3 separate regions of the Homo sapiens genome follow, and regions 2 and 3 are each linked to region 1. The links are contacts of gene promoters, found by promoter capture Hi-C in human tissues and cell types (Jung and others, 2019). All regions are on one chromosome and are shown on one strand. Each heading gives the region's core, a stretch centred on a gene start or on the middle of the fragment in contact. The rest is flanking DNA. Distances are from core to core; before and after follow the strand shown.

Region 1 (3,956 bases), core at 1,188-3,687:
TTTGGTGGAGGTAGGTAGTATGTTGGGTTGGACAGCATAACTGTCACTGCACTTCTGATAGCTCTAAAAAGATGCAAATGGCTTGCACGAGACTTTTGTCTCATTGCTTGGATTTCTCCAGCATCAAAATATAAACTTGGATGAAGCATACTTTTCTTCAGCTTTTGGTTGGGTCTGAAATCTTGCACTTTCTGTGTTTTAAACTGATCTATATCATCTGTGAAAACTGCCCATTCGGAATAATTGCTCACAGATTCCTCAAAAGTAGAGAAAGCAAACATCAATAATGCTAAGAATAGTAAATGTCCTGTAAACATTAACGCCATGATCCATGGGGGAGCTCCTCCCTTAGGCATACATGTCAGATATGATGCTCAATGTGTTTCCCATCTGGTTAGTATAAAACATACAGTAAAGGCCTTGATAAGACAAAGACTGTAAATCTGATATGCTGTGAAATCCAGCTGACATTCAGTACATTTTAAGCAAGTGCAGTTGCCAAAAAGAGAAAACTTAAATTGTATATCTCTGTCCCTGGCACAGTTTTGCTTCCAGTAAAACTTTGAATAACGTTAAAATCTCTAATTTTTCCATAATACACAGGGAAGTGATACAGGTAAAAAACACTATGAATTTAGCATTTACCTCCTTTACTTAAATCTATTTAACACAAAGAGTTGGAACACACATTGTAAAAAAAGAGAAAAAGCACTCCAAAATTCAAATTAAGAGTCATTTCTAGCACAGAAAACCATCACTGGTGATAAGCTCACCACACATGTATGATGCATTTGTGTATGTTTGCCCAAAGAAGATGATGAAGTACTGACATTCTTCGAGTGAGTGGACTCAGTTGTCATTCCTCTCAACTTTTTATACTTCTTGTCTTGTGAATACGTTTTTCTTTCATTTATGAGAGAGAAACATCCTCAACAAGTGATCAAAGTCTTAGTTGGTTTTTAAAAATTCAAAATTCTTGCCTTCATTTCAAATATTTTTCAGGCTTACTTACTCATCAGCCTATTATGACAAAGAGAAATCATGTTCACATCTTCTTTTATCAGCTTCATGTGTACAAACATAAAAATGGAATATCTTCAGTCACCTAGATACTTCTCGTCCGATCATGAAGTAACCGCCAACGGGGAAAGAAAATTCCCCTTTCAGCAACAGTGAGGTCTCTCTTCTGCTCTTTTTTCATGACACTTTTCTGGGGATGGGGGACAAAATAAAAATTCTCTGAGGCTTCAGGTATGCTGAGAATGAATATAAACTGATGACTTAAACATTCTGCAATCACTTAATAGAAATTTTAGAATCACAGTAAAATCTCATATTATCTGCAACCTAAGCTAGGGCAAGTGATTTTTTTCTTATCCATTTACACGCACTTATTTGGAAACCAGTGACCGTCAGCAGAAGACAAGCAACTAACAATACAAAATATACAAGATAGAACTCTCCCGACAATATCTATAGTTTAACGCCACTAACGTGGCTTCAGTCACTTAAAAAATGTTTGTATTCAAATGCAGTTTACACAAAGATGAGTCCTGCTATCCTTGTTATTTCTTGTTCCCAAGGACCGAGGGACAAAAAACTGAAAGTTGAAAAGATCTTTTTTTTTTTTTTTTTTTTTAATTCCGGGGGAAGGTTTAGAGTTCATGGGATCAGAAGGTATCTTCCTAATGAGAACTACTCGGACCAGTCACTTTTCTCGGCGGGGTAACCGCGAATCGTGACCAGGCGCCAAGCCGAGGGGCGGGAGCTCCGCGCTCGGCGCTCACCTGTGGCCGAGTCCCTGTCCTCAGGTGGAGCCGCCAGAGGGAGCTCGGACCCCGGTGTCGAAAGACGCCTCTCCGTGCCCGTCCGCGGCTGGAAGAACCTAAGCAAGTTTCAGTCTTGGACAAGTCTCCCCTCTGTAGGAAACATTCAGGCTAGGAGTTTCCTGATCCGCCCCGCCTGTTGCATTTTTTCACTGGCGTCCTCCGACCCTGCCGCCCCCATTCTCCGCTCCCCGCTCTGGGGCTGAGTGAGGCAGGATGGCGAGAGACCCCTGAGCCACCAAGTCCGCTTACCTCAGGCAGATCCCGACGGGGGCTCGGCGCCGCACTGGGCCCCAAGGGAGACGGAGGTGGAGAGTTCCAGAAAACTGCTCTGCACGGCGGGCCAGGCTCCCGCGGGGCTCCGCAAGACCCCCGCGTCGTCTCCCGCGCTACGGCAGGCGCTGCCCCAGCTCGGTCTCCTCAGCCGCGCTCGGTCCCCGCGACCCGCACGGCCCGGACACGCCCGCCCTCAGGAAACGCCGGACGCTTGTGGGGGCAACCACGGACCGCAGGACAGAGACCCGCGGGCGGCGGGTTCTCTCGGTGGCGCCGTATCCAGAGCAGCGCCCGCGTGCCCAGGCGGTGATGTCGCCGCGGCCGAGGATCCTCTGTGCCAGCTCCGGCCGCGCAGCCCGGGGAGGGTGAGACGGCGACGCGGGCCGGCAAGCGGGGGCGGGGCGGAGGCAGGACGGGGCGGGGTTGAAGGCGGGGCTGAAGGCGGGGCCTCAGGGAAGGCGAGAGACAGCGACGCTGGCTGGCGGGCGTGGGGCGGGACGGAGACAGGACAGGGCGGGGTCAGAGGCGGGGCTTCGGGGAGGACGGGAGGAGCCGTGAGCAGGCCGGCGGCGGGCGGGGCGGGGCCGAAAGCAGGTGAGGCGGGGCCAAGCGCCCCGGGTTTCTAAGCGGAGGAAGCTCTAGGCGTTTGTGTTCTGGGCTTGCAGCGGTGGCCGCGCGCTCCCGGAGGAGTCGAGCTGGAGGAGGGGACAGTTTGGGAGTGCGAGAGTCTAAAGACGCTGCCAGGCTGGCGTTAAAACCTTTTGGTTATGGGAAGACGACAACTATATAATAGAGCCATAGTGGGGGCTGTGGGATTGACTCAAATGATGGGAGGAGCTGGAGTGGGAGGGGATAAGCCCTGGGACGACAGAAATCATCCTTTTGGAAAGAGCAAGGGCTGGGGAAGGAGGGAATGAGCACTCCCTTGGAACTGAGAGGCAGCCTGGCTGAGCTTGCTGTCCTTTGGAAAAGCAAAACCGAAATACCCAGATTAATATAGGAGGACAACTTCTGTAGCCCAGATGCTAACAAAGATCAAGGGAAAACAGAAAAGACTAATCAGCTTTACTGATGGAAAACAATTTCTCAGGCAGTATAAATAGGGGAAGCATGGGACAAACAAGTAGAAGGAGCCTCTTATTTAAAAATGGGACCTGGTATTCGGTAAAGACCTACATGCAGACAGGAGAAGGCAGTGTGCCCCGGCTACTACGACATGTGAGTGCAGTGCCAGGTCGTGGAAATCCTAGAGCAGGCTGGGACTCCTGTTGCACTCCACACATGGAGCTTCTCACAGATAGCTGAGATGACACTTTGGCATAAACCAACCCAAGCTCTGACCTCAAATGTAAAAAATAATAGCTTAGTAGTAATAAAAATACAGGGAAATATCAAGCTTCACAAATGAACAATTCCATTCTCAGTTGGGGATTAGTAACACATTCAGTCTCTTCATTTCCCATACTATTTTGGTAATATTTAATAAGATATATTTTAACATTTTAAAAATAAATGTCTTGCTTAGATCATTTGCTGCTGAAAATCAAACAGTAGACGACTGCTAGCAGAATAAATTTCAAATCATTTAACTTTGAGGTGAAATGTGGCCTCTAACTCCTCATCACTCTTCTGTTTTGGCCCCGTAGTAACCCCTAGCCCAGTCCAAATAGCCACACTTGCTTTTGCTTGGGTGCTTCAGTAACTATGCTTATTCCATTCTTTCCCTCACAGTGTCCTTTACCCAACCACCCCACTTACTAGTTAAAATTCTTCTGACTGTTGAAATTATCTGATCATCCAGGTCTCAACTCAGATGCTTACATTCTTCTGTAAATAACTCCTAAGTTTCCCTAG
Region 2 (3,660 bases), core at 846-3,345, 1.0 Mb after region 1:
AAATGACGGATCCAGAAAAGCTTGTCCATACTTTAGAAAGTATCTGTGTATATCACTTCTATTTTCTGTAAGGCTATAATTTTTCAGGAAGTTTATATACATAAACATTCATTTTCAAAGTATTTAACAAGTAACTACTGTGTGTTAGCCAAGACTTTTAACGGAACAAGGGGAAAGGGGTTCAGACACAGAAATAAATCTCATTTATAAACAAAAGTCCAGGCATCAAGGCATTCAATTTTATTCTCATGCACTATTATTCTTTCATCTTTGATACCCAAGAAACCCAGTAGAACAATACAGAAGGAAGTCAATTTTTTTTTGCAAACATGCTTTCTAAAAAGGCAAAAGATGAAGTAATTTGAGAATAATATTATATTGCAAAATTATTGTAAATGATAAATCTACCTGATTGTTTCCATCTTCAGCTTGTTCCTTAGCTGATCAGTGAGTTATCTCAAATAATATTACATATTCTTTGCAGAGTTTGTGGGAATTAAACTTACCCAGAAGGAGATGGCAATCCAGTTGATGGAGGGGATGCTCCACGGGTGCCTGGGCCGGGACAAGGAAGCTTCCCAGTCTGAAGTAAAAAGGAAAACACCGAGCGTTAAGTCTGCCTTCCTCCTACATTAACCATCAACTACTAAGTATCTAACAACCAGCTTGCAAAATTCCTGATAATTTAAGACCCAGGACTCGGTAATTTGTAAAGGAAAAAGGTTAATTGACTCACAGTTCCACATGGCTGGGGAGGCCTCACCATCAAGGCAGAAAGTACAGGGGAAGCAAGTCACTTCTTACATGGCAGCAGGCAAGAGAGGGTTTGTACAGGGGAACTCCCATTTACAAAACCATCAGATCTCGTGAGACTTATTCACTACCAGGAGAACAGTATGGGAGAAGCTGCCCTCATTATTCAATTATCTCCACCTGGCCTCACCCTTGACAGGTGGAGATCATTACAACTCAAGGTGAGATCTGGGTGAGGGCACAGCCTAACCAATCAACCACTGGGCTATTCTCCAAGGTTGATTTGGAATCAAGCAATGCTTCCCCAAACTCAATTCTCTGGTGCTGACTCCTTATATCTTTTGTGCCTTTATATGGGTGACACTGGAGGCTGACATTGGAAAAGAAATCTAGTACATTATTTAGAGGTGAGATGCTAACTAGACATACCTAGAGTTCCTCAGTCAGAAAGATCTTTGCGAACATTCTCATAGTGCCTGAGACACTAACCTCCACTGTCACGACACTCATCTCAGCAAAATTTCAATTGCATTCTAGGTAGAATAGAGTCTTGGGACAACACAGCCAGGAATTCCCAAGTATCCATAAATATAAAACAAGAAAGAATATCATACTAACAGGATGAGGGCTTTCTGTATTCTTTAAAATAAAATAAAATAGGTCTAATCCTTTAATTCAAACACTGACATGTAATTCTGTTCTTTTTAAATATGTTTATATTTTTGGATCAATTTTTAACAGAAACATATTTTTGTCAGTCTATGTATGAGCCATTAAAACTAAAGGGGTAGAAAACAGTGATATTTATTACCTTGATTTCTGTTGACAGAATAAACAGTATGTTTTAGTACATTCTAAAAATTAATTTTATCACTTTTGATAATTTCTCTGTATAATCCATTTGGCTTCTATTTTGTCTTTGAGAGGTTTCTGGTACAAATTTATGAGGTACGTGTGCAATTTTGTTACATGCATGGATTGCATAATGGTCAAGTCTGAGCTTTGATGGTATCCATCAGCCTCATAACGTACATTGTACCCGTTAGCCAATTTTCATCATCCATCTCACTGCACCCATGGTTTAGTATTTTTTATTTTCTTTTTTATTTTTTTTGAGGTGGAGTCTCACTCTGTCACCCAGGCTGGAGTGCAGTGGCACAATCACGGCTGATTGTAACCTCCATCTCCCAGGTTTAAGCGATTCTCCTGCCTCAGCCTCCTGAGTAGCTGGGATTATAGGCGTGTGCCACCACGCCCGGCTAATTTTTGTATTATTAGTAGAGATGGGGTTTCACCATGTTGGTCAGGCTGGTCTCGAACTCTTGACCTCGTGATCCACCCACCTCAGCCTCCCAAAGTGCTGGGATTACAGGCGTGAGCCACTGAGCCCAGCCAGCTTAGCACTTTTAAGAAAATGTTTTTCTTTAGATTTTTAAAAATTCTAATATACAACAAACACTCATGCTATCTCTGTAAGTCCCAGTAATAGCAGTAAGACACACCACATAAGCCACTTTGAATCAAAGAAGATTCATATAATAATTTTGGGATTTTTCTATCTTTATCCCTTTGTGGTAATCAAGTTTTCTGGGTATAAAATTTAGTTCTTATTTTCAAGTGGTTTTCCATTAATTTGGAGGATCACTAAACTTCAGATTATTTTATTTTTTCCTGTTATATTAAACTTACACAGAGAACACTTTGTGGGGTTCTGGAGCTTGTTTGTGTTGGCTGCTAAGAGATGATTATTAAATCATCAGGAATTTTGCAAGCTGGTTCTTAGATACTTAGTAGCTGAAATTGGCCATGATGGGAGTATTGATATCGCAGAAATCAGCAAATCTATAAATTAGAGCCCTCCTCACACACCATGGTGCTTAAACATGTACTAGTATGTCACTGACCAATTCATTCCCTTTGTGAGATGTTTCATCCAGGCACATGCCTGGAGTAGGAGTTCAGCACAGACTATCAGAATGGCCTGCACTCAGGCGCTACTGCTGTAGTACAGGCCACTTTCCTACCCAAAGAAACGCTGACTCCTCAATAAGCTTCTGTATTCGTTTGTTCTCACACTGCTGAGTCCCAGTAACAGCAATGTACAATAGCAATAGTACATGTTTAAGCACCACTGGATGAGGGGGGGCTCCAATTCGTAGGTTTCCTAATTTGCTAATTTCTGTGATATCAATAGTCTCATCAGGGACGATTTCAACTACTAAGTATCTAACAACCAGCTTGCAATATTCCTGATAATTTAAGACCCAGGACTCGGTAATTTGTAAAGGAAAAAGGTTTAATTGACTCACAGTTCCACATGGCTGGGGAGGCCTCACCATCAAGGCAGAAAGTACAGGGGAAGCAAGTCACTTCTTCCATGGCAGCAGGCAAGAGAGGGTTTGTACAGGGGAACTCCCATTTACAAAACCATCAGATCTCGTGAGACTTATTTACTACCAGGAGAACAGTATGGGGGAAGCTGCCCTCATTATTCAATTATCTCCACCTGGCCTCACCCTTGACAGGTGGAGAGCATTACAACTCAAGGTGAGATCTGGGTGAGGGCACAGCCTAACCAATCAACCACTGGGCTATTCTCCAAGGTTGATTTGGAATCAAGCAATGCTTCCCCAAACTCAATTCTCTGGTGCTGACTCCTTATATCTTTTGTGCCTTTATATGGGTGACACTGGAGGCTGACATTGGAAAAGAAATCTAGTACATTATTTAGAGGTAAGATGCTAACTAGACATACCTAGAGTTCCTCAGTCAGAAAGATCTTTGCGAACATTCTCATAAGATGTGATGCCTGAGACACTAGCCTCCACTGTCACGACACCCAGCAAAATTTCAATTGCATCCTAGGTAGAATAGAGTCTTGGGACAACACAGCCAGGAATTCCCAAG
Region 3 (4,183 bases), core at 1,409-3,908, 1.1 Mb after region 1:
TAACAGCTGATGTAGTAATCAAGTACATATTTGCATATAAAAAGCATCTACTTAATTATATTTTGACTGTCACACCTGTCCTAAATAGAAAACTGAAAACATCAAAATTAAATGACTCCAGACCGTCAAAGCAAGAGGTAGATTAGAAGGAATTCCAGACATCAATATTAAGGAAAGTTCCGGTAAGACATACTGTTAGCATTCTGAATTCGCATCTCAATAGAATCACACTTTTTTTTAATGCAAAACAGAAGGATAAGATCCAACCATCTGTTGTCTACAAAAGACCTACCTAACAGGAAAAGATACCATGCACACAGAAAACAGAAATGAACCCAAGTAGCTATATTTATATCAGAGTAAAAAACTTTAAATCATCAACAATAAAAAAGACAAAGAAGGTCATTATGTAATGATAAAGCAGTCAGTTAAACAAGAAGACATAACTATCCTAAATATATATGCACCAAACACTGGAGCACCTAGATTCATAAAACAATTCTGCTAGACTTATGAAAAGAGACAGAATACAATAATAGTAGACTTCAATACCCTGCTGACATTGCTAGCAGATCATTAAGACAGAAAATCAGCAAAGAATCAACTGGAATTCAGCTGGACTCCAGACCAAATGAACCTAATAGACGTTTACAAGAAATTATTCTAGCCCAAAATCACAAAATATACATTTTTTCTCATCTGCTCATGGGACATTCTCCAAAATAGACCATATGCTTCGCCATAAAGCAAGTCTCGACAATTTCAAAAAAAAATCCAGATCATATCAAATATCTTCTTGGACCACAGTGGAATAAAATTAGAAATTAACACAGGCAGGACATGGTGGTTTACGCCTGTAATACCAGCACGTTGGGAGGCCAAGGCAGGCAGATCGCTTGAGCACAGGAGTTTGAGACAAGCCTGGGCAACACAGCAAAACCTCATTTATAGAAAAAAAAAAAAAAAAAAATTAGCCAGGTATGATGGCAAGTGCCTGCAGTCCTAGCTACTCAGGAGTCTGAGGTGAGAGGTTCCCTTGAGCCCAGGAGGGAGAGTTTGCAGTGAGCCAAGATCATGACACTGCACTCCAGCCTGGGCAACAGAGAAAGACCCTGTCTCAAAAAAAAAAAAAAAAGAAAGAAAAAAAAAGGAAAGAAAAAGAAAAAAGACATTATTAATGCAGAGGAATTATCAAAAGTAAACATATACTTGGAAACTAAATGACTTATTCTTGAATGATCTTTGGATAATCAATGAAATTAGGATAGAAATTTTAAAAAAATTTAAAATGAATGAAAATAGAGACATGATATACCAAAACCTCTGGGATATGTAGCAAAAGTAGCGCTAAGAGGAAATTTTATAACATTAAATCCCTACATCAAAAAGATATAAAAATATTAGATCAACAACTTAATATTCCACCTCAAGGAACTAGAAGAACAAAAATAAACCAAACCCAAACTTTGCAGAAGAAAAGACGTTAAAAAAAATCAGAGCAGAACTAAATGAGATTGAGACCCCCAAAATAATACAATGATCAATGAAGTGAAAAACTGTTTGAAAAGATAAATAAAGTTGATAGACCACTAGCTAAATTAAAGGGAAAAAAGCAAGAAGATTTAGATAAGCACAATCAGAAATTATAAAAGTGATTTTACAACTATTACCACAAAAATACAAAAAGATCATCAGAGATTAATAGGAACATCTGTGCACAGACGAGAAAACCTAGAGGAAATGAATAAATCTGGGGAGGTTGTACATTTCTAGAAACCTATCCATTTCATCTAGGAAGAAATAGAGCCAGGAAGGAATAGAAACCGTGAACAGACCAATAATGAGTATTGAAATCAAATTAGTAATTAAAAATCTCCCAAAAACAGAAAAGGAAAGTACCAGATGGATTAACAGCCAGATTTACCAGATGTACAAAGAAGAGCTAATACCAATATTGCTAAAACTATTCCAAAATATTGAGGAGGAGAGATTCCTCCCTAACTCATTCTATGAAGCCATTAACACCTTGATTCCAAAATCAGCAAAGACACAACAACAACAACAAACTATAGGCCAATATCCCTAATGAACATAGATACAAAAATCTTCAACCCACATGGAAATTGAACAAATGTCAAATGTCTCCTTTGCAGATGACAAGATCCTGTATCTAGAAAACCCTATCATCTCAGCCCAAAAGCTTCTTAAGCTTATAAGCAACTTCAGCAAAGTCTCAGAATACAAAATCAAAGTGCAAAAATTGCAAGCATTCCAATACACTAACAATAGACGATCAAAGAACCAAAATATGAATGAACTCCTATTCACAATTGCTACAAAGGGAATAAAATGCCTAGGAATACAACTAACAATGGAAGTGAAGGACCTGCTCAAGGAGAACTACAAACCACTGCTCAAGGAAATCAGAGAGAACACAAACAAATGGAAAAACATTTCATGCTCATGGATAGGAATAATCAATATCATAAAAATGGGCATTCTACCCAAAGTAATTTATAGATTCAGTGCTATTCCCATTAAACTACCATTGACATTCTTTGCAGAATTAGAAAAAACTGCTTTAAAATTCATATGGAAAAAAAAAGAGCCCGTATAGCCAAGACAATCCTATACAAAAAAAATGAAGCTGAAGGCATCATGCTACCTGACTTCAAACTATACTACAAGGCTACAATAGCCAAAACAGCATGGCACTTGTTGCAAAATAGATATATAGACCAATGGAACACAATAGAGATATCAGAAAAAGAAATGCATATCTACAATCATCTGATATTTGACAAATCTGACAAAAACGAGCCATAGGGAAAGGATTCCCTATTTAATAAATGGTGCTGGGAAAACTGGCTAGCCATATGCAGAAAAGTGAAAATGGGCCCTTTCCTTACACCTTATACAAACATTAACTCAAGATGGATTGAAGACTTACATGTGAAACCCAAAATTATAAAAACCCAAGAAGAAAATCTAGGAAATACCATTCAGTATATTAGCATTGGCAAAGATTTCATGACAAAAACACCAAAAGTAATTGCAACAAAAGCAAAAATTGACTAATAGGGTCTGATAAACTGAAGAGCTTCTGCACAACAAAAGAAACTATCATCAGAGTGAATAGACATTCTACAGAATGGGAGAAAAGTTTTGCAACCTATCTGTCTGACAAAGGTCTAATATCCAGAATCTACAAGGAACTTAAACAAATTTACAAGAGAAAAAACAAACAACCCCATTAAAAAGAGGGCAAACGCTATGAGCAGACACTTCTCAAATGAAGACATTTATGTGGTCAACAAATATATTATAAAAAGCTCAATATCATTGATGATTAGAGAAATGTAAATCAAAACCACAGTGAGATACTATCGCACGCCAGACAGAATGGCAATTATTAAAAAGTAAAGAAATAACACATGCTGGCAAGGCTGTGGAGAAATAGAAATGCTTTTATACTGTTGGTGGGAATGTAAATTAGTTCAACCATTGTGGAAGATAGTGTGGTGATTCCTAAAAGACCTAGAACCAGAAATAACATTTGACCCAGCAATCCCATTACTGGGTGTATACCCAAAGGAGTATAAATCATTCTATTATAAAGATACAAGCACACATATGTTCTTTGCAGCACTATTCACAATAGCAAAGACATGGACTCAACCCCACTGCCCATCCATGATAGACTGGAAAAAGAAAATGTGGTACATATACACAATAGAATACTATGGAGCCATAAAAAGGAATGAGATCATGTCCTTTGCAGAGACATGGATGGAGCTAGAAGCCATTATCCTCAGCAAACTAACACAGGAACAGATAACCAAACACCACATGCTCTCACTTGTAAGTGGAAGCTGAACACTGAGAACTCATGGACACTGGAAGGGGAACAATGCATACTGGGGCCTGTCAGGTGGCAGGAGAAGTGAGAGAATCAGGATAAATAGCTAATACCTAGGTCATGGGTTGATAAGGTGCAGCAAACCACCATGGCACATGTTTACCTATGTAACACATGGGCACGTCCCGCACACGTATCCCAGAACTTAAAATAAAATAAAATTTAAAAAATAATTTAAAAATTAGAAAAAAGTCATAAAAAATAAGTGGGAGCTAAAGAATGAATACATATAAACATAAAGTTGGAAATAATAGATATTGGGGA

Evidence for each region. The method cuts DNA at HindIII sites, captures the fragments that hold promoters and counts their contacts. A contact is called where the count stands out against the background at its distance.
Region 2: a fragment that was not itself captured here is called in contact with the fragment with the promoter of DSEL in region 1 in 1 of the 25 tissues and cell types used here (lymphoblastoid cells).
Region 3: a fragment that was not itself captured here is called in contact with the fragment with the promoter of DSEL in region 1 in 1 of the 25 tissues and cell types used here (dorsolateral prefrontal cortex).

Annotation. Positions count from the first base shown.
Region 1 is chr18:67,514,283-67,518,238 of GRCh38, forward strand. DSEL (dermatan sulfate epimerase like) reads right to left here and starts at 2,438. Exons shown (of 2, transcript NM_032160.3): 1 at 2,079-2,438; 2 at 1-1,210. The coding sequence starts at 326. It overlaps DSEL-AS1 (DSEL antisense RNA 1), which reads left to right and starts at 2,264. Exons shown (of 5, transcript NR_033921.1): 1 at 2,264-2,467. The HindIII fragment of the contact is 11,831 bases long and covers 1-3,956 here.
Region 2 is chr18:68,534,457-68,538,116 of GRCh38, forward strand. No RefSeq gene overlaps it. Among named protein-coding and RNA genes, the nearest start is that of TMX3, 180 kb to the right of the region's middle. The HindIII fragment of the contact is 3,596 bases long and covers 298-3,660 here.
Region 3 is chr18:68,569,883-68,574,065 of GRCh38, forward strand. No RefSeq gene overlaps it. Among named protein-coding and RNA genes, the nearest start is that of TMX3, 140 kb to the right of the region's middle. The HindIII fragment of the contact is 5,132 bases long and covers 93-4,183 here.